Linked DNA regions of Homo sapiens: regions 1, 2, 3, 4, 5 and 6 are each linked to region 7. Evidence: promoter capture Hi-C in human tissues and cell types (Jung and others, 2019). All regions are on one chromosome and are shown on one strand. Each heading gives the region's core, a stretch centred on a gene start or on the middle of the fragment in contact. The rest is flanking DNA. Distances are from core to core; before and after follow the strand shown. Region 1 has its middle 29 kb from the start of MCHR1. Region 2 overlaps MRTFA (myocardin related transcription factor A). Region 3 overlaps SLC25A17 (solute carrier family 25 member 17). Region 4 holds the start of TOB2 (transducer of ERBB2, 2). Region 5 holds the start of POLR3H (RNA polymerase III subunit H). Region 6 has its middle 25 kb from the start of TEF. Region 7 holds the start of EP300 (EP300 lysine acetyltransferase).

What was found. Contacts are between HindIII fragments. The study calls those that stand out against the background at their distance.
Region 1: a fragment that was not itself captured here is called in contact with the fragment with the promoter of EP300 in region 7 in 1 of the 25 tissues and cell types used here (IMR-90 fibroblasts).
Region 2: a contact is called between a fragment that was not itself captured here and the fragment with the promoter of EP300 in region 7, in 1 of the 25 tissues and cell types used here (stomach).
Region 3: a fragment that was not itself captured here is called in contact with the fragment with the promoter of EP300 in region 7 in 2 of the 25 tissues and cell types used here (IMR-90 fibroblasts and aorta).
Region 4: the fragment with the promoter of TOB2 here is called in contact with the fragment with the promoter of EP300 in region 7 in 2 of the 25 tissues and cell types used here (dorsolateral prefrontal cortex and hippocampus).
Region 5: a contact is called between the fragment with the promoter of POLR3H here and the fragment with the promoter of EP300 in region 7, in 3 of the 25 tissues and cell types used here (adrenal gland, dorsolateral prefrontal cortex and hippocampus).
Region 6: a contact is called between a fragment that was not itself captured here and the fragment with the promoter of EP300 in region 7, in 2 of the 25 tissues and cell types used here (dorsolateral prefrontal cortex and hippocampus).

The regions. Positions count from the first base shown.
Region 1 is chr22:40,706,433-40,709,583 of GRCh38, reverse strand. No RefSeq gene overlaps it. Among named protein-coding and RNA genes, the nearest start is that of MCHR1, 29 kb to the right of the region's middle. The HindIII fragment of the contact is 5,121 bases long and covers 1-3,151 here.
Region 2 is chr22:40,627,495-40,630,584 of GRCh38, reverse strand. All of the region lies in intron 1 of MRTFA (myocardin related transcription factor A), which reads left to right. Among named protein-coding and RNA genes, the nearest start is that of MRTFA, 7.7 kb to the left of the region's middle. The HindIII fragment of the contact is 9,289 bases long and covers 1-3,090 here.
Region 3 is chr22:40,771,385-40,774,482 of GRCh38, reverse strand. It overlaps SLC25A17 (solute carrier family 25 member 17), which reads left to right. Exons shown (of 9, transcript NM_006358.4): 8 at 464-546. Among named protein-coding and RNA genes, the nearest start is that of MIR4766, 41 kb to the left of the region's middle. The HindIII fragment of the contact is 5,383 bases long and covers 1-3,098 here.
Region 4 is chr22:41,445,506-41,448,757 of GRCh38, reverse strand. TOB2 (transducer of ERBB2, 2) reads left to right here and starts at 1,957. Exons shown (of 2, transcript NM_016272.4): 1 at 1,957-2,379. It overlaps LOC105373043 (a long non-coding RNA gene), which reads right to left and starts at 1,813. Exons shown (of 2, transcript XR_938274.2): 1 at 726-1,813; 2 at 1-639. RefSeq lists a silencer at 826-925 and enhancers at 796-1,491, 1,496-1,745, 1,492-2,187. The HindIII fragment of the contact is 14,496 bases long and covers 1-3,252 here.
Region 5 is chr22:41,542,818-41,545,994 of GRCh38, reverse strand. It overlaps POLR3H (RNA polymerase III subunit H), which reads left to right and starts at 1,525. Exons shown (of 6, transcript NM_001018050.4): 1 at 1,525-2,004. The coding sequence starts at 1,894. RefSeq lists silencers at 1,335-1,434, 1,625-1,754 and enhancers at 1,805-1,894, 1,905-2,004, 1,327-2,164. The HindIII fragment of the contact is 26,348 bases long and covers 1-3,177 here.
Region 6 is chr22:41,405,574-41,408,905 of GRCh38, reverse strand. No RefSeq gene overlaps it. Among named protein-coding and RNA genes, the nearest start is that of TEF, 25 kb to the right of the region's middle. RefSeq lists a silencer at 505-554. The HindIII fragment of the contact is 5,819 bases long and covers 1-3,332 here.
Region 7 is chr22:41,091,204-41,094,524 of GRCh38, reverse strand. It overlaps EP300 (EP300 lysine acetyltransferase), which reads right to left and starts at 1,933. Exons shown (of 31, transcript NM_001429.4): 1 at 1,427-1,933. The coding sequence starts at 1,520. It overlaps MIR1281 (microRNA 1281), which reads right to left and starts at 2,012; the gene lies at 1,959-2,012. RefSeq lists an enhancer at 1,243-1,482 and silencers at 1,593-1,692, 1,873-2,642, 2,743-3,032. The HindIII fragment of the contact is 16,440 bases long and covers 1-3,321 here.

The sequences.
Region 1 (3,151 bases), core at 297-2,796, 380 kb after region 7:
CGAGTAGCTGGGACCACAGGCACCTGCCACCAGGCCCGGCTAATTTTTGTATTTTTAGTAGACACAGGGTTTCACCATGTTGGCCAGGCTGGTCTCAAACTCCTGGGCTCAAGCAATCCATTGGCCTCGGCTTCCCAGAGTGCTGGGATTACAAGCATGAGCCACCGTGCCCTGCTGTCTTTCAATTTTTATTAAAGGAGAAGGAGATTTGAGACACAGAGACATAGAAAGCGAGCCAGGTGAAGACTGAGGCAGAGACTGGAGTGGTGCCTGTGTGGGCCTCAGAGCCTCCAGAAGGGACCAACTTACCTGAGAACTTGATTTTGGATTTCTGGCCTCCAGAACTATGAGATAATACATTATTTCACAGTTTCTAACCTGCCAAGTTTGTGGTATTTTGTTATGGCAGCCTAGGAAACTAATACAGGGCACATTGGATTTAGAAATAAAGAGGTCATTGGTTGACTTTGGTGGGTTCTAAACCAGTAGGAGCAACTTTTCCAGGAAGCTTGACTATCAAGAGGAGGAGCGCTATGGCAGTAACTAAAGGAATGTTGCTTTAAGAAAAGATGTATATTGGTTCCAGCAGAGCTATTAAACAAACAAACAAACAAAAAACCCAAACAAACAAACAAAAACCCCCACCAAACTACAAATAAATAAATATTAAAAAAAAAAAAAAAGCTGAGGCGGGAGAATCTCTGGAATCCTGGAGGCGGCAGTTACAGTGAGCCAAGATTGTGCCACTGTACTCCAGCCTGGGCGACAGAGCAAGACTCCATCTCAAAAAAAAAAAAAAAAAAAAAAATCCAAGGACATCAGCTATAGGATTTAGGATGGACCTATATGACCTCAACGCAAGACCTTTAACTTAATTATATCTACAAAGACTCAATTTCCAAATAAGGTCACGGTCACAGGTGTCAGGGTCAAGACTTGGACGTATCTTTTGGGAGGACACTATTCATCCACCACAGATCCTTGCCAGGCCTCATCCTGACCTTTTTGCAGCATTTGACCCGCTGGGTCACTTGCTCGTGGAAACCATGTTTTCCATCAGCTTCCAGGATGCCACCGCTCCCCTGGCTTCCCTCCTGCCTCTCTGGATGATCCAACACAAGCTCCTCTGCTGATTCCTCTTCCCCAGCCAGCCCTGAACAGTGAAGGTTTCTAAGATTCTATCCTTAGCTTTCTTCCTCTTCTTTCTTTTCTCCTCCTCCTCACCCTTCTTCCTCCTCTTCCTCTTCCTCTTCTTCCTATTCTTCTTCTTCTTCTTTCATCTTCTTTCATCTTCTTTCTTCTTCTTCTCTTGGTTGGGCCATTGCATTCATTCCCATGGGCTTCAAGAAAGACACAAGGGAGTTATCCTGGATATGAGAGTCCATATTATTGGCCGGGCGTGGTGGCTCACGCCTGTAATCCCAGCACTTTGGGAGGCCGAGGCAGGCAGATAACAAGGTCAGGAGCTCGAGACCATCCTGACTAACACGGTGAAACCCCGTCTCTACTAAAAATACAAAAAATTAGCCGGGCGTGGTGATGGGTGCCTGTAGTCCCAGCTACTTAGGAGGCTGAGGCAGGAGAATGGTGTGAACCCGGGATGCAGAGCTTGCAGTGAGCCAAGATCGCGCCACTGCACTCCAGCCTGGGTGACAGAGCAAGACTCTGTCTCAAAAAATGAGAAAAGTCCATGTTATTGCAGATTTTAGGGCTAGAATGGGTCTTTGACAATGTAACCTGATGGCAATGGGTAAAGTGAAACTGCCTATGCAAAGATAATTCCAATGAGAGAAATCTAACATGGGTGACTCCATCTAGCCTCCAGCCTCACAGGTTGGCTCTCTTTGCTCATTTCTGGGCATAGGCCAAGCTAACCATGAGAGGAATTCAGTTTATAGTTTAACTTTGAAGCAAGGATGATAACAGTCCCTTTTAATTTGAGAGCTGAAACCACCTTTGTAAGACTAGTGAAAAGCCAAAAGATTAGGATTATGAGGGGAAGCTGAATTCTGTCAAAATGCAGGTGTAGTTTCTGTAATCCCTTACTGCTCAGGAGTCATGAGGCCAGAGGCCATAAGATTTGTGACTTCCCCAGTTGCTCCTATAGATAACATCACTCTTGTAGAACCTAAGATTGGCCTTTTGAGATGTTTTTCAGACTCGTGACCCATGACCATGACTGTGGCCCTACCAAGAGGTGGACTCAGTGCACAAGGACCATTTTCCACGCCCCTACAATTGCATCCCTAACCAGTCAGCAGCACCCATTCCCTAGTCCCTGCCAGCCAAACTATCCTTGAAAAATCTGAACCACTGATCCTTCAGGGAGACTGATTTGAGTGATAACCCCAGTTCTCCTGTATAACCAGCCTTGTGTTAATTAAACTCTTGCTTTACTGCAATACCACAGTTCAAAAAAATTAATTTGGTCTGTGCAGCAGACGGGAAGCACCCATTGGGCAATTACAAAAGGTCAGAAAAGTGACAAAAGGAATACAATATTTTAAGTCCAGGCACAGTTGCTCAGGCCTGTAATCCCAGCACTTTGGGAGGCTGAGGCAGGATCACCTGATGTTAGGAGTTTGAGACCAGCCTGGCCAACATGGTGAAATCTGTCTCTACTAAAAATACAAAAATTAGCTGGGCATGGTGGCATGCTCCTGTAATCCCAGCTACTTGGGAGGCTGAGGCAGGGGAGTCACTTAAACATGGGAGGTGGAGGTTACAGTGAGCCAAGATCATGACACCGCACTCCAGCCTGCGTGATACAGTGAGATTCCATCTCAAAAAAAAAAAAAAAAAAAAAAAGAGGAATACAATATTTTAAGAAGATTTCTCCAGTCTTGGTGTTTGAGATGGACTGGATTGGTGAAAGAGACTAGAAAACCAGAGACCCTTTGGGGATTTACTGTAGTAATCCAGGTATGTAATGAGGAGGGCTTAGACTAGGATGCTACCAAGAAAGAGAGGGAAGAGGAGAATGAAGGTTTTTTGGGGGGCACCTATTCTGTGCTACTTTATATACACGTCAGTTCTCACAACAACCCTACAAGGAATGTATTCAGATTTCCATTTTTACAGACTTTTTAAAAAGTTCAGAGAGGTTAAGTGACTTGTTGAAAGTCACACAGCAAGTCTATGGCCATCCTGG
Region 2 (3,090 bases), core at 549-3,048, 460 kb after region 7:
AATGAAGATGACTTCCATTTTACTACTTTAGGAAGTAGATTTGTTACGTCGAAAGGAAAGGAAATAGAAATGGATTCAGCTTTCTCCAAGTTGAAGTCTGAAATCTCTGATTTTGTACAACAGAAAAACGATTCTGTTGACTTAAAAACTGCCCAGGTGTTTTTTTGTTTGTTTCTTTTGTTTTGTTTTTAAAGAGACAGAGTCTCACTCTGTCATCCAGCTACCACACCCAGGCCTGTACCTTTTATTTTTTTATTTTTATTTTTTGAGAGACAGAGTCTCGTTCTCTTGCCTAGGGTAGAGCACAGTGGTGTGATCATGGCTCACTGCAACTGCCGCCTCCCAGGTTCAAGCGATTCTCCTGCCTCAGCTTCCCAAGTAGCTGGGATTACAGGTATGTGCCACCATGCCCAGCTAATTTTTGTATTTTTTAGTAGAGGCAGGGTTTCACTATATGTTGGCCAGGCTGGTCTCAAACTCCTGACCTCAGGTGATCCGCCTGCCTTGGCCTCCCAAAGCGCTAGGATGATAAGCATGAGCCACCGTGCTTGGCCAGTCCTGTACCTTTTAAATGCCCTCCAGATTAACCTTGTCCCTCAAACTCAGCCACACAGGTTCTCATTCTAGGTATTAGTGTGGGCCCTAGTTCCACCTCTAAGCTCTTGTGAAGCATATGGTGGGATCATAGCTCACTGCAACCTCAAAACTCCTTGTCTTAAGTGATCCTTCTGCCTCTGCCTCCTGAGTAGCTAGGACAACAGCATGTACCACCATGCTTGGCTAATTTTTTTTTTTTTTTTTTTTTTTTTGAGATGGAATCTTGCTCTGTCACCCAGGCTGGAGTGCAGTGGCGGGATCTCGGCTCACTGCAAGCTCCGCATCCTGGGTTCAAGCAATTCTCCTGCCTTAGCCTCCCGAGTAGCTGGGATTATAGGCACCCACCACCACGCCCAGCTAATTTTTTGTATATGTATATATTTTTTTTAGTAGGGACGGAGTTTCACTATGTTGGCCAGGCTGATCTCGAACTCCTGACCTCAGGCGATCCATCCGCCTCGGCCTCCCAAAGTATTGGGATTACAGCGTGAGCCACTGTGCCTGGCCTGCTTGGGTAATTTTTTTTTTTTTAATTATGTTTTGAGACGGAGTCTTGCTCTGTTGACCAGGCTGGAGTGCAGTGGTTCGATCTTGGCTCACTGCAACCTCCGTCTCCCGGGTTCAAGCCATTCTCCTGCCTCAGCCTCCCAGGTAGCTGGGACTACAGGCATGTGCCACCATGCCCGGCTAATTTTTTTGTATTTTTGGTAGAGACGGGGTTTCACCATATTGGACAGGCTGGTCTCAAACTCCTGACTTCAAGTGATCCGCCCGCCTCGGCCTCCCAAAGTGCTGGGATTACACATGTGAGCCACCGCGCCCAGCCTCTGCTTGGCTAATTTAAAAAATTTTTTTTGTAGAGAAGAGAAGAGAGTCTTGCTATATTGCCTAGACTAGTCTCAAATTCCTGGCCACAGCAATCCTCCTGCCTTGGCCTCCCGAAGTGTTGGGATTACAGGTGTGAGCCACCGTGCCTGGCCAAAATTCTTAAAAATACTGAATCCATATCACATGTATGAGGAGAGAAGATAATTACACTCTGTGTCACTGCAGGTGTTAAAGCAGAAATTGGGTGACCTGTCAGGGTGCATTGGGTGGAACTAATTGCTCAAGTTGCCTTCAGTTCTGTGGTTCATGACTCAAGTCCAGTTCTCTCATTGTTTAGTGGGAGGAGGCACTGTGAAATTAAATGATTTGAGTTCCACAACAGTCCAGGGGCTGAGCCCAGGCCAGTTCCTCACACAGTATTTAAGGCCGGCTCATATAGCAGTAATAGAAGATCTGTAGAATCCTTGGAAGAAAGAGCGTTGTGAAAATGTCTTTTTTTTTTTTTACTTCCACATTTTTACTTCTGTGGTATGTTTGGTTCATTTGCTCCCCACTCATTCTTATTGATATGCATTTAGAAATCATTCTCTGTGTAAATGAGAGCTTGTAATGAGTAATTTGGCTAGTTCATTTTGAGATCTGGAGTGTGTCCTCTGTTACTGAATTTCTAGATAGGTAGGCTATTTACAGGTCTTTGTCCTCTAAAATTATGAGTGGAAATTATGGGTGATTCTGGTTTTTGAAAATAATTGTTCTTGTATTAAAATTTAAAGCATAATGGGCATAATTCAAACAAAGTTCTGAACTTCATAATATGACAGAGTAAAATATCCAGTGAGGTAACATGTCCATGTCAAGTTTTAGGGCACAGCAGATCTGGGTACTGACAGTTACCAGGTATGTGACTGTAGGCTTACTCCTTAACCTTCCTGTGATTCAGCTTCTTCATCTGTAAACTAGAGTTAATAATCCTTACAACATGAGGTCGTTATAAGGATTATGAAGAAATGTAAAGAGGGAAGTAATAGGGGCATCTACTTTATAGTAGACATTGTGCTACCTTATTAATCCTCATATGAACTCTGAAATAAGTGGTAGTAGCAGCATTTTGCAGATGAGCAAAGAGAAGCTTCTAGAGGAACTTCTAGATAACAGGATTTTTGTTGTTGTTTTGCTTTTTTGTTTTTTTTAGACAGAGTCTTGCTTTGTCTTCCAGACATGAGTGTAGTGGCAGGGTCATAGCTCACTGTGTCCTCAAACTCCTGTAACCTCAAACTGCTGAAGCAGTTCTCCTGCATAACTAGGACTATAGGCGTGTGCCATCATGCCCGGCTAAATTTTTTTGTGCAGGCGGGGTGTCACAGTGTTCCCCAGGCTGATCTTGAACTCTTGCCCTCACGCTTTGACCTCCTAAACTGTTGAGATGACAGGCATGAGCCGCTGTGCCTGGCCAGGATTTGAATCCAGATCTGTTTTTGAATTAAATAATTCTGGCTTCCTACCATGATGTATATGAAGTTCCTAACTTTGCCTCTAGTAAATGTCTTTTCGTGTTCAGTGTCTTTTGCATAGTTAGCGAAAATGTCAGTTATAGTGAGAACTCTTTGTAGTAGTAATCAAGATGTTATAGCTCAGAAAATATTCTGTGCGGTATTCATTATATGT
Region 3 (3,098 bases), core at 361-2,860, 320 kb after region 7:
GGAGGCCGAGGTGGGTGGATCATTTGAGGTCAGGAATTCGAGACCAGCCTGGCCAACATGGTGAAACCACATCTCTGCTAAAAATACAAAAATTAGCCGGGCGTGGTGGTACATGTCTATAATCCCAACTACTCGGGAGGCTGAGGCAGGAGAATCACTTGAACCTGGGAGGTGGAGGTTGCAGTGAGCCAAAATTGTGCCATTGCACTCCAGCCTGGGTGACAGAGTGAGAAGATGTCTCAAAAAAAAAAAAAAAGGAAAAATTTTTCTTATTTTCACTTATTTGATTGAAATATTTCACTCAGTTGAAAAATACAGGATTAATGAAATCTATGGTACTAATTGGATAAATTTATTAATGTATGCTATAAGATACTACTCCAACATAATATCCTCCCCAGGTAAAAATGAAGATTTTAAAAAACAGCAACAGTACTTTTGTTTTTTTTCCCTCTTTCCTCAGTTTGGGCGTCATAGACTAAACCCAGAAAACAGAACATTGGGAAGTCTTCGGAATATTCTCTATCTTCTTCACCAACGAGTAAGGTGAGCTTTGTAGATGCCTCACATTCCGTGCTCTCCTTCAGCAGCCATCTCTGCCAGGGAGGGGTTGCATTTCCCTCTCTCACACTACTGCCTTGGTGGTGGCAACCTCCAAAACCTTTCCCTTGCTTGCTGTGCTTAGACATTTCCCATTTTAGGAGCCTAGTACAGTATGACAGCATTTTGGGAAATTATGGAAAAGTTCAGGTTCTTATTCTTTGTTAGTTACAAATATTCAGAACTCCTTCAGAAAGAGAACCCTTCTATACTTCAGTCACCCTGAGTGTGCTTTCATCAGTGGCATATCCTATGATGCCTCTTAGCAATATAACATCTGCCTATAGAATAGGAGTACTGGAGAAGGGAGGGGGCAGTGGAAAAAGTGATAATAGTGATGATGATGATGATAATGATGATGGTGGTGTTGGTAAGAGTAGCTAACATTTTCAGTGGTTTGCCATGTGGCAGACACTGACCTAGAGGCTACACATAGGTAATCTCAATCCTTTTTTTTTTTTTTTTTTTTTTTGGAGACAGAGTCTCGCTCTGTTGCCCGGGCTGGAGTGCAGTGGCGCTATCTCCGCTCACGGCAAGCTCCGCCTCCTGGGTTCACACCATTCTCCTGCCTCAGCCTCCCAAGTAGCTGGGACTACAGGCGCCTGCCACCACGCCTGGCTCATTTTTTGTATTTTTTAGTAGAGATGGGGTTTCACTGTGTTTGCCAGGATGGTCTTGATCTCCTGACCTCGTGATCTGCCCTTCTCAGCCTCCCAAAGTGCTGGGATTACAGGTGTGAGCCACCGCGCCCAGCCTTGTCAATCCTAACAGTAGCTCTGTGAGTTAAGAACTATTGTCATTTCCTGTTTCATTTAAAGAAACTGACACTTAGTGAAGTCAGATAAGTCAGGGACCTCCTTTGAAGCAAAAGCTCTTATAACTTTATTACTGTTCCTAGATACAAGATACTTTGAAAATAAATTTATTATTAAAATAAAATATGCAGCCAGGCAAAGTGGCTCATGCCTGTAATCCCAACACTTTGGAAGGCTGAGACAGGAGGATAGCTTGAGGCCAGGAGTTCAAGACCAGCCTGGGCAAAGTAGTGAGACCCTGTCTCTACAAAAAATATTTACAAAATTAGCCAAGCATGTGGCACAAACCTGTAATCACAGCTACACACGAGGCTGAAGCAGGAGATTCACTTGAGCCCGGCAGATTGAGGCTGTACTGAGCTATGATGGCACCACTGTACTCCAGCCTGGGCTAAAGAGGCAAGACCTTGTATAAAAAAAATAAAAAAAAAAAAAGAACATTCAAGGGACTAAAAGACAAAATTAGGCTGGGCGTGGTGGCTCACACCTATAATCCCAGCACTTTAGGAGGCCAAGGCAGGCAGATCGCTTTAGCTCAGGAGTTTGATACTGGCCTGGGCAACATAGTGAGACCCCGTCTCTACACAAATAAAAAATTAGCTAGGCATCCTGGTGCCTGCCTGTAGTCCCAGCTACCCAGGAGGCTGAGGTGGAAGGATTGCTTGAACCCAGGAGGTCGAGGCTGCAGTGAGCTGTGATTGTGCCACTGCACTCTAGCCTGAGCAACAGAGTGAGACCTTCTATCAAAAAATAAAATAAAATAAAAGACAAAGAATATGTATAAAGTAAAAAATAAATACTCACTATATCAAGTATTGGGAGGGATGTTGGAGCAACCAGAACTTACTTTCTTATGCTGCTGGTGGGAATATAGAATGGTACAGCTGCTTTGGAAGGCAATTTGGCATTTTCTTTAAAAATTTTTATATACCACACCTATTATAGGACCCAGCCATCCACTTCAGGGTATTTACCCAAGAGAAATGAAGGCATATGTCTACACAAAAGCTTGTATACAAATGTTAATAATGGCTTTGTTTTTTTTTTTTTAATTTTTTAATTTTTGATTTTTGTGGGTACATAGTAGGTATATATTTTTGAGGTATGTGAGATGTTTTGATACAGGCATGCAAAGCATAATAATCACATCATGGAAAATGGGGTATCTATCCTCTCAAACATTTATTCTTTTTGTTACAAACAGTCCTATTATACTCTTTTAGTTATTTTTAAATGTACAATTAAATTATTATTGACTATAGTCACCTGTTGTGCTAGCAAATACTAGGTCTTATTCAAACTATCTATTTTTGTACCTATTAACCATCCCCACCTTCCCCCCGCCACTACTCTTCCCAGTAGTCTCTGGTAACCATCCTTCTACCTTTATCTCCATGAGTTCAATTGTTTTGATTTTTAGGTCCCTCAAATAAGTGAGAACATGCGATATTTGTCTTTCTGTGCCTGGTTTGTTTCACTTAGCAGAATGACCTCCAGTTCCATCCATGTTGTTACAAACAACAAACTCTCATTCTTTTTGATGGCTGAATAGTACTGCATTTTGTATAAGTACCACATTTTCTTTATCCATTTATCTGTTGATGGACATGTAGCTTGCTTCCAAATTTAAGACATTATTTGTAAGAACCAAAAACTAGGGCCTGGCACGGTGGCTCACACCTG
Region 4 (3,252 bases), core at 708-3,207, 350 kb before region 7:
CACCTATTTACATGGCTGCCTTAATCAATGACTACAAATACCAGCATCCCTTGCCGTGCCCGCTGGCGCAAACGCACACTCCCAAGGGCCCAGTCTTAGCGGCTGGATCCTAAACCCAATCAGACACCGCTTCTCCCTTTCCCCCGACCAATGGGAAGGCTGTTGCTAACACACCGGCTATATTTTTAGCTTTCAGTGCTCTGGGAGCGTGTGGGTCGGCTGAGCCTCTCTGCCTGGTGGGAAGAGCTAGGGGAAAAGAGAGAAGGGAAGGGGAGGGGGAAAGGGAGGGTGCAGCGGGCATGTGCGGGAGGGGGCGTGTGTGTGACGCTGTCACTCGCTGACGCACAAGGCAAGTAGTCCCTGGAGGTGCCCCCGGGGTTGCGACGCTCAGAGTGTGGGGGATGGGGGGGCGCTCAGGCTATCTCCCGCCTCCCTGTCCCGGTGGAGTTTGCCCTCCAGCCCGGCATTTCTCTGTTGCATTCAGGGAAAGTGCATTTAAACCCCCCACGCTACTGGTGCTCTCCGCCCTTGCCAAAAAAAGCGATCAAGGAAAAAAAAAAAGCAAACTGTTCGTAGCTGGAAACTTTCGGATCTCGCCACCCAACGTGGGGATGGCGGCTGCTGCTGGGCCGGAACCGTCTGGAATGACAAAAAAGGTGTGGGCGGGAGGGGAGAACTGGGAAATGGGAGATCTAAGGAGGGACCGGGGAGAAGACCTCACTCACAGTCCCCCGGGGGCTCCAGACTGCATCTTCCGGCACTCCTGTCTGCCTGTGACCGCAGAACACGGCCCTCCCTCCCCCTGGCTCTGTGTCCCGCACACTCACAGAGGCAGAGCAGCCCGCGTGGCCAGAGCCGGGGGAGGGGGCCTCAGCGCGCGGGCCTGGCGCGCCCAGTCCCGGGTTCGCGGAGCCTCGCTCCGCCGCCCGAGGGGCCGTAGTGGGTGCGAGCCTTGCGCCCGTTGCACGGTCAGGGGCCACCCCACGCCGGCGGGACTGCGACTAGAAGAAATGTGGGGCTCTCCCGCGTGCCCCACACTGGGGTCGCTGGCCAGAAAGAGCAAACAAGAGTTGGGAGAGGGGCTGCGCCCGCGCGCCTGCGCAGAGCCAGAGCCGGCCCTCCAGGCTGCAAGGAAAGGAGCGCCAGAGGCGGTGAGGGGAAGGTCCTTTGTGGCACTCGGCTAGTTTCACGGCCGTCAGCCTCGTCCTCGGCTCCTCTTACTCCCGCACAGCGTGGCCCAGGCCCCAGAGTCTCCCTCGCCTTTCTTTCGACGTTGAGCCCCCCGAGGAATCACAAGGCGCTCGGAAGACTCATGCCTGCCCGAAACGGGTCCGAAATGTTTCCAGAGCCCGCGTCGTCCCCTCAGTTCCCCCTCCCGCAGAGGCCGTAACGGGGCGATGCTATCGCCGCGGACACGGCCAGACGCTCGGAGCTGGAGGGAAGGCCCCGGGAAACGGCTCGGGCAAACGTCCGAACCATGGGCTCCGAGGCAGGTGCAGGGCGGACGACTCAGCGGGGGGTTTCCGGCGGGCATGGTGACTCCCTCCCCTCCCCCGCGATACTCGTCCCCCAAACACAACTAAAGGGAGAGTGCACTGTGCCCGGCTCGTGAGCAACCCGGCCCCAGGTGGTCCCCGGCCCTCACGGAGCGCCCCTGGGAGAACACCTCACACGACGCGCACAAGTTCAGAGTGGTATGGGAATGAAGGAAAGGAGTGCGGCGCGGCGCTGTGACAGGGAGGGGAAGACGGGGAGCCGGACGCACGACCGGCGAGCACAGAAGGGCACAGGAGCTGCTCCGCGAGATACCAGCGAGCTGAGGCGCGGGGCTGGCTGGGAAGTAGTCCCGGCCGGGCCCTGGCCCCGCCCCTGCAGGGCGGAGGGACGCATCACGCAGGGGTGGGGAAGCCGGATCCGTGCGCAGGGTTGCTAAGGGTGAAACTTTTCATTGACTTTGCTCACTTCGGGCCGGGGCGCGGGAAGGTGCGGGTTGTTGGCTGAGGCAAGCCGTGGCTCGGGCGACGCGGGGCCAGGAGGGCAGGACCGTCTGCCGGCGACAGCCCATACCGTCTGCCGTTGCGCGACACGAACCACCCTCCGATCCGCCATCCCCGCGTCGTCGCCGCTAGTCCGCCCGCCCGCCCTCGGGCCCCCCGCTGCCGAGCCCGACCTCCTAAGAGCTGAAAGAAATTATTGAGAGTCATAGTCCATAGCCCCCTGCTTCGTCCCCCAACCCTCAACGACGAAAAGGACTTCGGTCCCCTGGCCCGGCGACGCCCGGGAAGGAAAGGAGAGCGACCTCCGCCCCGCGCTCAGGCCACCCTGGAGGGAGAAGCCGCCCCGCGGCCGGTAGAGCGCCCCGCCGCCGCGGAGACCCGAGTGAGTGAGTTGGGGGGCGTGCGGGCGGGGGGCCCGCCCCGAGACCCAGCCGGCCGGACTACCTCTTCCACCCCGCCCCACTCCCGCTTTGCTGGACTCTCCACGTTGCTGCCGCTCCCTCCCCGCCTGGCCAGCATTTTCTTTCCCCATCCAGCTTCCCTCCAGACCCCACTTTCCCCAGCTCCTCTTCTCACGCCATCTGTGCTCCTGGGGTGCCCAAGAGCTCCTTTTTCTCCCAGTTCCAAGAGTGGCCCTCTCCTGGGTGGGGTGCATTTCCTCCCTTCCCCGCCTCCCCCGGTTCTTTATATCCTAGCTACTCGCTAGATCTTCCTTGTTCTCCAAAGAAACATAACTCCCCCCACCGTTAAATAAATCCGAGGAAGGAAGGGGATCCAGGCCTTGTTTTTCTGCTTCTTTTCCCGTGTGCAGGGAAGGGGGGTGGTAATTGTTAATAGACTCTATTTCTGGCTCTGTGGAGCCTGAAGGGTGGAGGGTGGACACCCCCTTTGGCGACGGGACAGGTCAGTGGAGATTGTCCTTGGGCCACTGAGCCAGAGTTCACCGTTTCGGCTGAGCTCTTTATACTCTTAAGTGTTTTAATGGAAAATTGGGCAGAAAAAAGTACCCTTAGAGCAGTGCCAGTGAGTGGATTCTGCTTATCTTGGTAAGGTGCCTGCGAGGTGGGGCCCTACCCCCAAACTCCTTCCCCTCCTGTCCGGAGGATGAACTGTGCCCTTGACCACCAGAAATCTGGGAGGGGAAGGAGGGTGCAGAGAGGAGGCACAGCCGGCAGGCCCTCTCCCTCCCCCAGGAGAAACCAGAACCCCGCACAGCAAGCTTCAGCTTGGGGACGGGTGGAGGCCAGTCTCTGGT
Region 5 (3,177 bases), core at 276-2,775, 450 kb before region 7:
TGAAATCAGCAAATTAAGGCACCATACATTTCCAAGTGCCTCTGTCATTTACCCCAAGTATCTTTTGTAAGTACCTAAATTGTTATTTTGGTTAAAACACACTACAAGCCCGGGCGCGGTGGCTCACACCTGTAATCCCAGCACTTTGGAAGGCTGAGGTGGGCAGATCATGAGGTCAGGAGATCGAGACCATCCTGGCTAACACGGTGAAACCTCGTCTCTACTAAAAAAAAATACGAAAAATTAGCCAGGCGTGATGGTGGGCGCCTGTAGTCTCAGCTACTCGGGAGGCTAAGGCAGGAGAATGGCGTGAACCCGAGAGGCGGAGCTTGCAGTGAGCCAAGATCGCGCCACTGCACTCCAGCCTGGGCGACAGAGCGATCCTCCGTCTCAAACAAACAAACAAACAAAAAAACCCACTACAGTATACATCTACACCCCACCAATTTTTAGAGGCAGGGTAGTGAGGTTCAGACTGGGCCCACCTCTACCACTTGTCAACACGTGATCTTGGGTAAGCTACCAAATTCTCTTAGCCCATGCTATCACGTGAAGATGAATGAGACTGGAATGTCAGCGAGACAGAGCATGATGGGGCTATAGGAGGGGGGTATGGTCAGATCTTGCAGGGCCGTGTGAACTACCATAAAGGTTTTGGACTTTTCTTCTTTCTTTCTTCTTTTCTTTCTTCTTTCCCTTTTCTTTCTTCTTTCTTCTTCTTCTTCTCCTTCTTCTTTCTTCTTCTTCCGCCTCTCCTTCTTCTTCTTTTTCGTTTAGACATGAGGTGTCACTGTCACCCATGCTAGAGTGCAGCATGCAACCTCAAACTGCAACCTCAAACTCCTGGACTCAAGCGATGCTGCTGTCTCAGGCTTCTGAGTAGGTGGGACTACGGGTGTACACCACCACGCCCGGCTTGGATCTAGTATTCTAAGTTCAATGGGTTGTGTTTTTTGTTCCAATTTATTATAACTTTTCAATTGGAACATAATGTCTACAAATAAATGCAAAAATCTTGCCGAGTTCAATTAGTTTGGACAATTATATACGTCAATGTTATACCACCGAAAACAAAATACAGAACATTTCCATCATCTCAGAACAGTCCCAAGTGCCCCTTTCCTGCTAATTCTCCTTGTCTCCGGAACACTTAAGGGTGCTAAGCATGTTATGTTTGCGGTGGGTTTTTTTTTTAACTTAGATGTGGTAATATATGTTTGCGTTTCCAAAGGATCACTCTGGCTGCCGAGCAGAGGACAGCAATGCGGGTAAAGCACAGGCCAGGCGAGGGATAATCAGGCGGGATTGCACGGAGGTCGCCTAGCAACAGAAAGCGCTGTCGGGGGCGGGGGAACCGCTCTGCTCCTGTGAAAGGAGGAGGCCCCGCCCTCTCCTCGCCCTCTCTCTGCCCCACGCTGTGCGCGAGCACACAGGCAGCCCCGCCCCGCCTCGGCGGGGTGGGGGTGGACAGAGGTTTCTTATTGGTGAGTTTTCCGGAAGCGATGGATTCGGAATCTCGCCCGCAGTCGCGCAAGCGCGAGCGGCTGTGCGCGGTGCGTGGTGCGTGGTGCGTGATACGAGCGGCGGCACGTGGCGCGGGTGCGGGGCGTGGAGTGGCGTGGCGTGGAGTGGCGTGGCGTGGCGGGGTCTCGCGGCGCGGGCGCGCACCCGGAGCTGTGGACGGAGAGTGCCTCCCTCTGGCCTCAGTTTCCTCATGTTGTAGTAGCGGAGCATGGCCCGGACCGGGCCCCCGAGACCGCCCCGTGCAACCTCACCGCCAGCCTGGGGGCCTCAGCGACTGGGACGGGACCAAGGGGCTCGGGGATTCTCCCTGCCCCCGGCCCTGGTGCGTGACTGACCCTCCTGTTCCCAGAGCCCCCAGCGCAGGCCGGGATGTTCGTCCTGGTGGAAATGGTGGACACCGTCCGGATCCCCCCTTGGCAGTTTGAGAGGAAGCTCAACGACTCCATTGCCGAGGAGCTGAACAAGAAGTTGGCCAACAAGGTACTGGGCCCACGGCTCGCGGGCAGGCCTTGGCGTGGGAGAGCGAGCGCCGCCCACTGGCCGCAGGCCCGGCCTCGGTCATGCCAAGCCCTGGCCGTGGGCAAGCAGCTTAATGTCTCAGAACTTTTCTTCACCGTGAAAGGAGATATTGAAGGGGATCAAAAGAAAATGGGCTTGAAAAAGGGAGTTGTAACTGGAAGTGTTAGATTCCACAATTCTAAATTACTTTGCAATTGCAGGCAAGTTACTGACCCCTTCTGGGCCTCAGTTTCCATTTTTAAAATGGGGATAAAATATTGCTGTCCTTCCAGCCATGCATTGTTTTTGTTGTTGTTGTTGTTTGTTTTGTTTTGTTTTGTTTTTTGTTTTTGAGACGGAGTCTTGCTCTTTCGTCCAGGCTGGAGTGCAGTGGCGCGATCTCGGCTCACTGCAACCTCCGCCTCCCGGGTTCAAGCGATTCTCCTGCCCCAGCCTCCCGAGTAGCTGGGACAACTACAGGCGCGCGCCACCACCCCCAGCTAATTTTTGTATTTTTCGTAGAGACGGGGTTTCACCATTTTGGCCAGGATGGTCTCGATCTCTTGATCCCCCCGCCTCGGCCTCCCAAAGTGCTGGGATTACAGGTGTGCGCCATCGCCTCGGGTCAATGCATTGTTTTCGTGAAGATGGAGAGTTCTAGTAGTACAGAATTAACTGTCAGGAGGTTCATCCCTTCATTCCAGCAGCCAATATTTGTGCGCCTTCTCTGTGCTGTGCCTGTGTGCCTTAGTACCAGCTGAGAGGTCTTCCCACTGCCGTTTCTTTGACAGTCCTCCCTTTCCAGGTATTCTGTGTCACATCACTCTCTTTCCTTCTTAGACTTTTTCCTTTCCCTCTCCTTGAGAGCAGGGACCTTATCTGCCTTCTTCCCTGAAGTATCCCCTCATTTAGCCAAAGCCTGGCGGGAGTAGATGTCCCATAATTTTCTGTTTTGTGTTTGTGTGTGTGAGACAAGAGTGCCGCTCTTGTCGCCCAGGCTGGGGTGCAATGAAGCGATCTTGGCTCACTGCAACCTCCACCTCCCAGGTTCAAGCTATTCTTCTGCTTCAGCCTCCTGAGTAGCTGGGATTACAGGCACCTGCCACCACACCTGGCTAATTTTTGTACTTTTAGTAGAGACGGGGTTTCACCATG
Region 6 (3,332 bases), core at 475-2,974, 310 kb before region 7:
CCAGCCAGAGTTGGCAGTCCTTTTTCTTTTTTCTTTTTTGAGACGGAGTCTCGCTCTGCTGCCCAGGCTGCCCAGGTTGGAGTGCAGTGACACGATCTCAGCTGAGCTCACTGCAACATCCACCTCTCAGGCCCAAGCAATTCTCGTGCCGCAGCATCCTGAGTAGCTGGGACTACAGGTACCCACCACCACACCTGGCTAAGTTTTTGTGTTTTAGCAGAGAAGAGATTTCACTATGTTGTCCAGCATGATCTTGAACTCCTGAGCTCAGGCAATTCACATGCCTCAGCCTCCCAAAGTGCTAGGATTATAAGCGTGAGCCACTGTGCCCGGCTAGAATTTCCATTTCTTGATAGTTCAGTTCAGTGCAACACAGAGAATAAAAGCACAGACTCTGGACCCAGATAGATCTCAGTTTGAGTCTGCCTGTAACATTTCTTAGCTATGTGATCTTGGGCTACTCACTTCACCTCTCTGTGCCCTAGTTTTCTTTTCTTTTTTTTTTTTTTTTTTTTTTGAGACAGGGTCTCGCTCTGTCGCCCAGGCTGGAGTGCAGTGGCACCATCTCGTCACTGCAAGCTCCGCCTCCTGGGTTCACGCCATTCTCCTGCCTCAGCCTCCCGAGTAGCTGGGACTACAGACACCTGCCACCACGCCCGGCTAATTTTTTTGTATTTTTAGTAGACATGGGGTTTTACTGTGTTAGACAGGATGGTCTCGATCTCCTGACCTCGTGATCAACGCGCCTCGGCCTCCCAAAGTGCTGGGATTACAGGTGTGAGCCACCGCACCTGGCCGCTGTGCCCTAGTTTTCTCACCTGTGAAATGCGATTTATAATAAGATGTAACTCACAAAGGGTTGTGGGAAAGACAGTTTGAGAAAATGCTTGAAAAGCACTTAGCAGACTGGGCGTGGTGGCTCACGCCTGTAATCCCAGCGCTTTGGGAGGCTGAGGCAGGTGGATCACAAGGTCAGGAGTTCGAGACCAGCCTGGCGAACGTGGTGAAACCCCACCTCTACTAAAAATACAAAAATAGTCTGCTACCACCACCACCACTACCGCTCCTCTTATCTCCCCAGGGGACATAGTGACCCTTGAGTCAAAAGAGCAAGAGCCAGGTTTGTTACTCAAGGGCAGGAGCCAAGAAAGAAAGTGCCTAGGCCCCCTTACTAAGCCCACACTCCAGCCGTGTCAACAGAAAGTTCACCAGAGCTGGGTTCAAATCCTACTTACTGGGTGGTCTCAACCAAGTCACTTAATTGTTCTGAACCTGTTTTCCTATCTATAAAATGGATGTAAAGATACCGTAAAGGGCTGTTGTGAGGTTGAAATGAATGGGCATAGAAAGCATCTGCTGTCCTGGCACGGTATAGTTCATGCCTGTAATTCCAGCACTTTGGGAGGCTGAGGTGGGAGGATCACTTGAGCCCAGGAGTTTGAGACCAGCCTGGGCAACACAGGGAGACCCTCATCTCAATTAAAAAAAAAAATCTGGCCGGGTGTGGTGGCTCACGCCTATAATCCCAGCACTTTGGGAGGCGGAGGAAGGTGGATAGCTTTAGATCAGGAGTTCAAGACCAGCCCGACCAACATGATGAAACCCCGTCTCTATTAAAAATACAAAACTTGGTCAGGGGTGATGTCGGGCACCTGTAATCCCAGCTATCCAGGAGGCTGAGGGAGGAGAATCACTTGAACTCGGGAGGCGGAGATTGCAGTGAGCTGAGAGCTGAGATTGTGCCACTGCACTCCAGCCTGGACAACAGAGCAAGACTCTGTCTCAAAAAAACAAAAACTGACACAGTAAGTGCTCAATAATTACATGACCAGGCACGGTGGCTCACACCTGTTATCCCAGCACTTTGGGAGGCTGAGGCGGGCAGATCACTTGAGGTCAGGAGTTCGAGACCAGCCTGGCCGACATGGTGAAACCCCATCTCCACTAAAAATACAAAAAGTAGCTGTGTGTGGTGGCATGCGCCTGTAATCCCAGGTACTTGAGAGGCTAAGGCAGGAGAATCACTTGAACCCAGGAGGCAGAGGTTGCAGTGAGCCAAGATCACACCACTGCACTCCAGCCTGGGTGACAGAGTGAAACAGTCTCAAAAAATAAATTAATTAATTAAATAATCACATATCTTGAGCAGGAAAAGAGCCAGGCTGACTCTGTATGGGGAAGAGGGGAGGTGTTGGGCCCCTCCAGCTTAATCCCTGGACTCCCTTATGCTAAGGAAGTCCACAGCCTCCTTGACTACTCTGGCAGGAGTGAGAATAATGCTGTATGCCTCAGGGAAGCAGGGATCTAAATTCAAATGTATGTAAATATCATGCAAATCAGGAAGCACTGGGTCCTTCCAGGGGAGAGATGGAGAGAGAAGATCCAGTTACTAGGGACTGGGGATGGGGGTAGGGGGCTGGAACAGAAGCAGGGTACCCCAGAGCCTTCACAGGGCACTGCCCCAGCTGCCAATTGAGCAGCTGCCCCAGGCCCTGTGGGCCCCTCCTGGCATGGATATGAAACCTCCTGGGCCGGGTGCAATGGCTCACGCCTGTACTCCCAGCACTTTGTGAGGCCGAGGCGGGCGGATCACGAGGTCAGGAGATCGACACCATCCTGGCTAACATGGTGAAATCCCGTCTCTACCAAAAATACAAAAAAAAAAAAAAAAAAATTAGCCAGGTGTGGTGGTGGGTGCCTGTAGTCCCAGCTACTCGGGAGGCTGAGGCAGGAGAATGGCATGAACCCGGAAGGCAGAGCTTGCAGTGAGCCGAGATAGCACCACTGCACTCCAGCCTGGGCGACAGAGCAAGACTCCATCTCAAAAAAAAAAAAGAAAGAAAGAAACCTCCTGGTGCCCTGGGATCCGCGGACTCCTCGGTCAAGGTGAGAGAGTCCCTGGTGAGGACACACACAGACCCATTTGTGTACACATATGCTAACCCTGCCAGACGCAGTTGGACGCACACACATATACCCAGGAACAGTCACAGACACACATAGACACAATTGTACACACACTGAGACACAGGCACTCGGGCAACTCAGGCTCTGGGCCTCAGGGCAGGGGAGGCCCCAGAGATCTTGCCCCACTTGAAAAGGCAGTGCTGAGGCCCCAGGGGCCCCTGGTTTCCTGTCCACCCACCTTTTCCCCAACCCACACACACGGTACCTGCACACACCACCCCCACTCGAGGAGGCCCCTGAAAAAGCTCCCTCCTTGGCCTCATCCTGATATGGCAGGCCTGCTCCGTGCACCCCATGGGGTTCCAGTTCTTGCCCACATTTATTCTTTTTTTTTTTTTTTTGAGACGGCGTCTCGCTCTGTCGCC
Region 7 (3,321 bases), core at 684-3,183:
CAAAGTTCATGCATAATCAATGTTACAAGCCTTAGGTAGAGGAACTCGCAAGATTCCTACTTCTCAATTTTTGCAGGTTAACTTAAATTCATTTCACATCTTTCTTATAAAAGCAACGAATTCAAAGCATTAGCTCTGTCTTCCCATTTTCACCCTCTGAAATGAAGCCTATTTAGAAACATGCTCTCGAAGTTCTCTACAAACTCAAAGGGTACATTTAACTCCATTATGCACTCTCACTGGCAGATGGAGGGATGACGCTGAGCCTGCTCTCAGGGAGTTAAAGAGATGCTCCGTAGTAAAGGGGAACATCTTGTGGACTGTCAGATGGCCAGCCATTCTTCATCTTCATTATCCCAGCAAAGAAAAGGTCCTTACCCATCAGGATAACACCATTAAACTAACTGTAAGAAAAGAATGAAGGGATGATGGAAGAAGTCTCCCTGAACTTCTCCTGACAAAGGAGCTAGTCCACAACTGAATGAACTGGTCGTAAAGCTTTTAAACGAAAATCTTGATCTCCAAGTATGTTTAAAAGTGTAAAAAGACAAAGACACACACAAACACCAAACCTAATGCACATTTTAAACTTTTGTACAATCAGTTCACGTTTGTAGTTCATGATTGGAACTCTTTCAACTTCTAACCTTGATTTCCAGGTACGTAACTCCACAAAATTGTTTATCTTATTTCCCCTAAAATGAGAAAGTGACTGCAAACTGCAAAGAACATGCCCCTGTTCTCCCAACCTAAAAACCCAGAGTTTCAGACATTTTGGTCTCACACCAAAGAACTGGGAGATGTGAAATGAACTGCGCTCCATATTGATTCTTAAAGCAAATAAGAAGAAAAAGGAAAAAAAAGCTAAGAATGGTAGGTAAGATAAAAGAATTGTTAAACTTCACCTCTAACCTGAAATCTTGGACCTCGCACACACAAAATCAAGATTTTTTTACACCCTATTCCTCAACAGAAAATATTCTGCAAAGGAGAGAAAATTTCGAAGAGTGGAAAGTAGAGGAAACACAGTAAGTACAGTAAAGAGAAAGGATTCGAAATTCATTTGCCAAGAACAAAAAAAATGAAACTTAAATTGCATAGGAGCTCTTACACACAAATGCATTGGCATTTCCCAAATTAAATTGCATGAGAGCAACAATACAGGCCATTTCTATATAGCACCCACTTACGAGCTCTAATTCCAGAACACACACCGATATGACATAGTGTTGCAATCAATGTATTAGGAGGCAAAGAAAATGGTTGGGCTACTGGACGTCTTCGACCAGCTCATTCAAATACCTTTAAAATTAATTAAGGGGCAGGGAACTAGAGAGAGAGGAAGAAAAAAAAAATGGAAGAATAAAGGCGCACCGAGTAGAAAAGATTAAAGGGAACGTGGAAGGCCGGGGCTGCCGAAACTAACCTGTGCCATCGCTGGCGGACGCCGAGAGGGCCGGAGATGAGAGTTTAGGCCGCTTGGCTGAAGGCGGCCCCGGTTCCACCACATTCTCGGCCATTTTTAATTCTTTCGGAGATACAAGCGAGGAAAACCAGAATCCTCAGGAAATCTCTTCTTCGGCCCGGGGTCCCCGCGCCGCACCCAGGGGTGGGCTGGGGGGCTCCGACGGCACCCGAGGGGGTGGGGGAAGTTCCTTTTTCTCTTCGCCGGGTCGCAGTGGCTGGAGAGGGATGCGGACTCGATAGAAAAGGTAAGGGCAAGTGCGAGGGGCCGGGCCTGGGCCCAAGCCCGGAGGAGGGCACAAGAGCACAAATTCGCCGAGCGCGTCCGCTGCGGCGAATTCCCGAGAACTCGCGGCTCTAGAGGCGCAGTCCCCGGCCCGCCACGGCCGGCCCCTGCCCAGCCGAGGTCTCTCGGAGCTCCGCCGCCGCCATCAACCTCTTCCTCCTCGGCGCTGTCCTCCTCCTTCTCATCGCCACAAGGAGGCGGGGGCGAAAAGGGGGGAGAGGAGGAGGCGACAAGAGACACTCACCTCCTCCCGGTGCCCCCTCCCGGGCCTGCGCCCCCACCCTCCGAACCCTCCTCCTGCCGCCGCGCTCCGCGCCGCCGCCGCCGCACCGGCCCCTAATGGCCGCAGAGAACTCGCCCGAGCCGAGAGCCAGGCTGGCGCCGCCGCCTCACATCGCGCGGCGGCCGGCGGAGGCGCGGCAAGGACGCCGGGAGCGGAGCTGGCCGGACCAGAGGGCCGAGGGGGCCGGGCCGAGCAGCGCCGCCCGCACGCCCGCGCCGACGCGGAGCCCACCGAGGAGGCCCCGCTCCGGCGGCGGCGCAGGCGGCCCCTCCTCGCGCCGCGCTCCCCTCCTTCGCCTTCCTTTCCCGCGGAAAATAAATAAATACGGCCGCTGCTACGGCCCCCACCGCCGGCGGCCAGGTGCTGGGAGCGCCCGCCCCCCGGGGCTCCGTTCGGGGCCGCCCGCGGCGGCGGGAGAAGACGCCGCGGGGCGCGGGGTTATGTAATGGTCCCCCCTAGGCGTCGACGCCGGCCCGGCTGCTGGACCGCGGTGGGGGTGTGTGCGGACGGGAGGGGGCTGGGGGTCGCCTCAGCCCGTGCGCCCCGGGCCCCCTGCCACTGTCTCGGCCCCTGCCGCCTCTCTCCGACCCGACTCCCCTCCGCACTCTCTGGCTCCCGCAGTTAGCACTCAGCCCGGCGTCCTGCTTGCCCACTCTCGCCCGCTCTCTCTCGCCCTCTCTCCCCCCCAGCCTAGCACACAAACAAGATGGCGGCTGTTGTTTCTTCCCTCTGCCGAATCCTCCTTACAGGCTAGCGGTAGCGGCGGCGGCCGGAAATGAGCCAAGGGGGGGTGGAAAAGGGGAGTGGCCGGGCCTCCGGAGGGGGGCGGGGCCTAGGCCCGAGCCGCTCACACAATGGGGGAAGTGGAGCCGGGGGCGGGGCCTGTCCCAATCACGGGATCCGCCCTAGGCCCCAACGCGGTTAGCGCTTCCGCAAACTCCCCCGGCGTCACCCTGTGGCTCCCTTTAAAGGGGAGGATTTTAAGAGTGGGGAGGATTTTAAGGGGGGAGGGGCGGGGGCGGACTCAGAATCTATTTTCAGTCGGTGGATAGTTACGAGGGAAGGTTCCTGCCTTTGGTCTCTGCGTAAGGGACCAGTGGGAACCGGGACGACGGAACCCCGGAGCTGCTCCGAGGAAGGCGCCAAGTCGCCACTCAGGTGGCCAAATGGGAGCGCCCGTAGGGCGGCCCTGCTCTTCGGCCCTTGGGTGGCGGGTCCCCCAAAACCCCGGTCGAATTCACCAGGCAGGGTGTACCCACTGCCGGCTGTTCCGGGCCAGATACCCAGT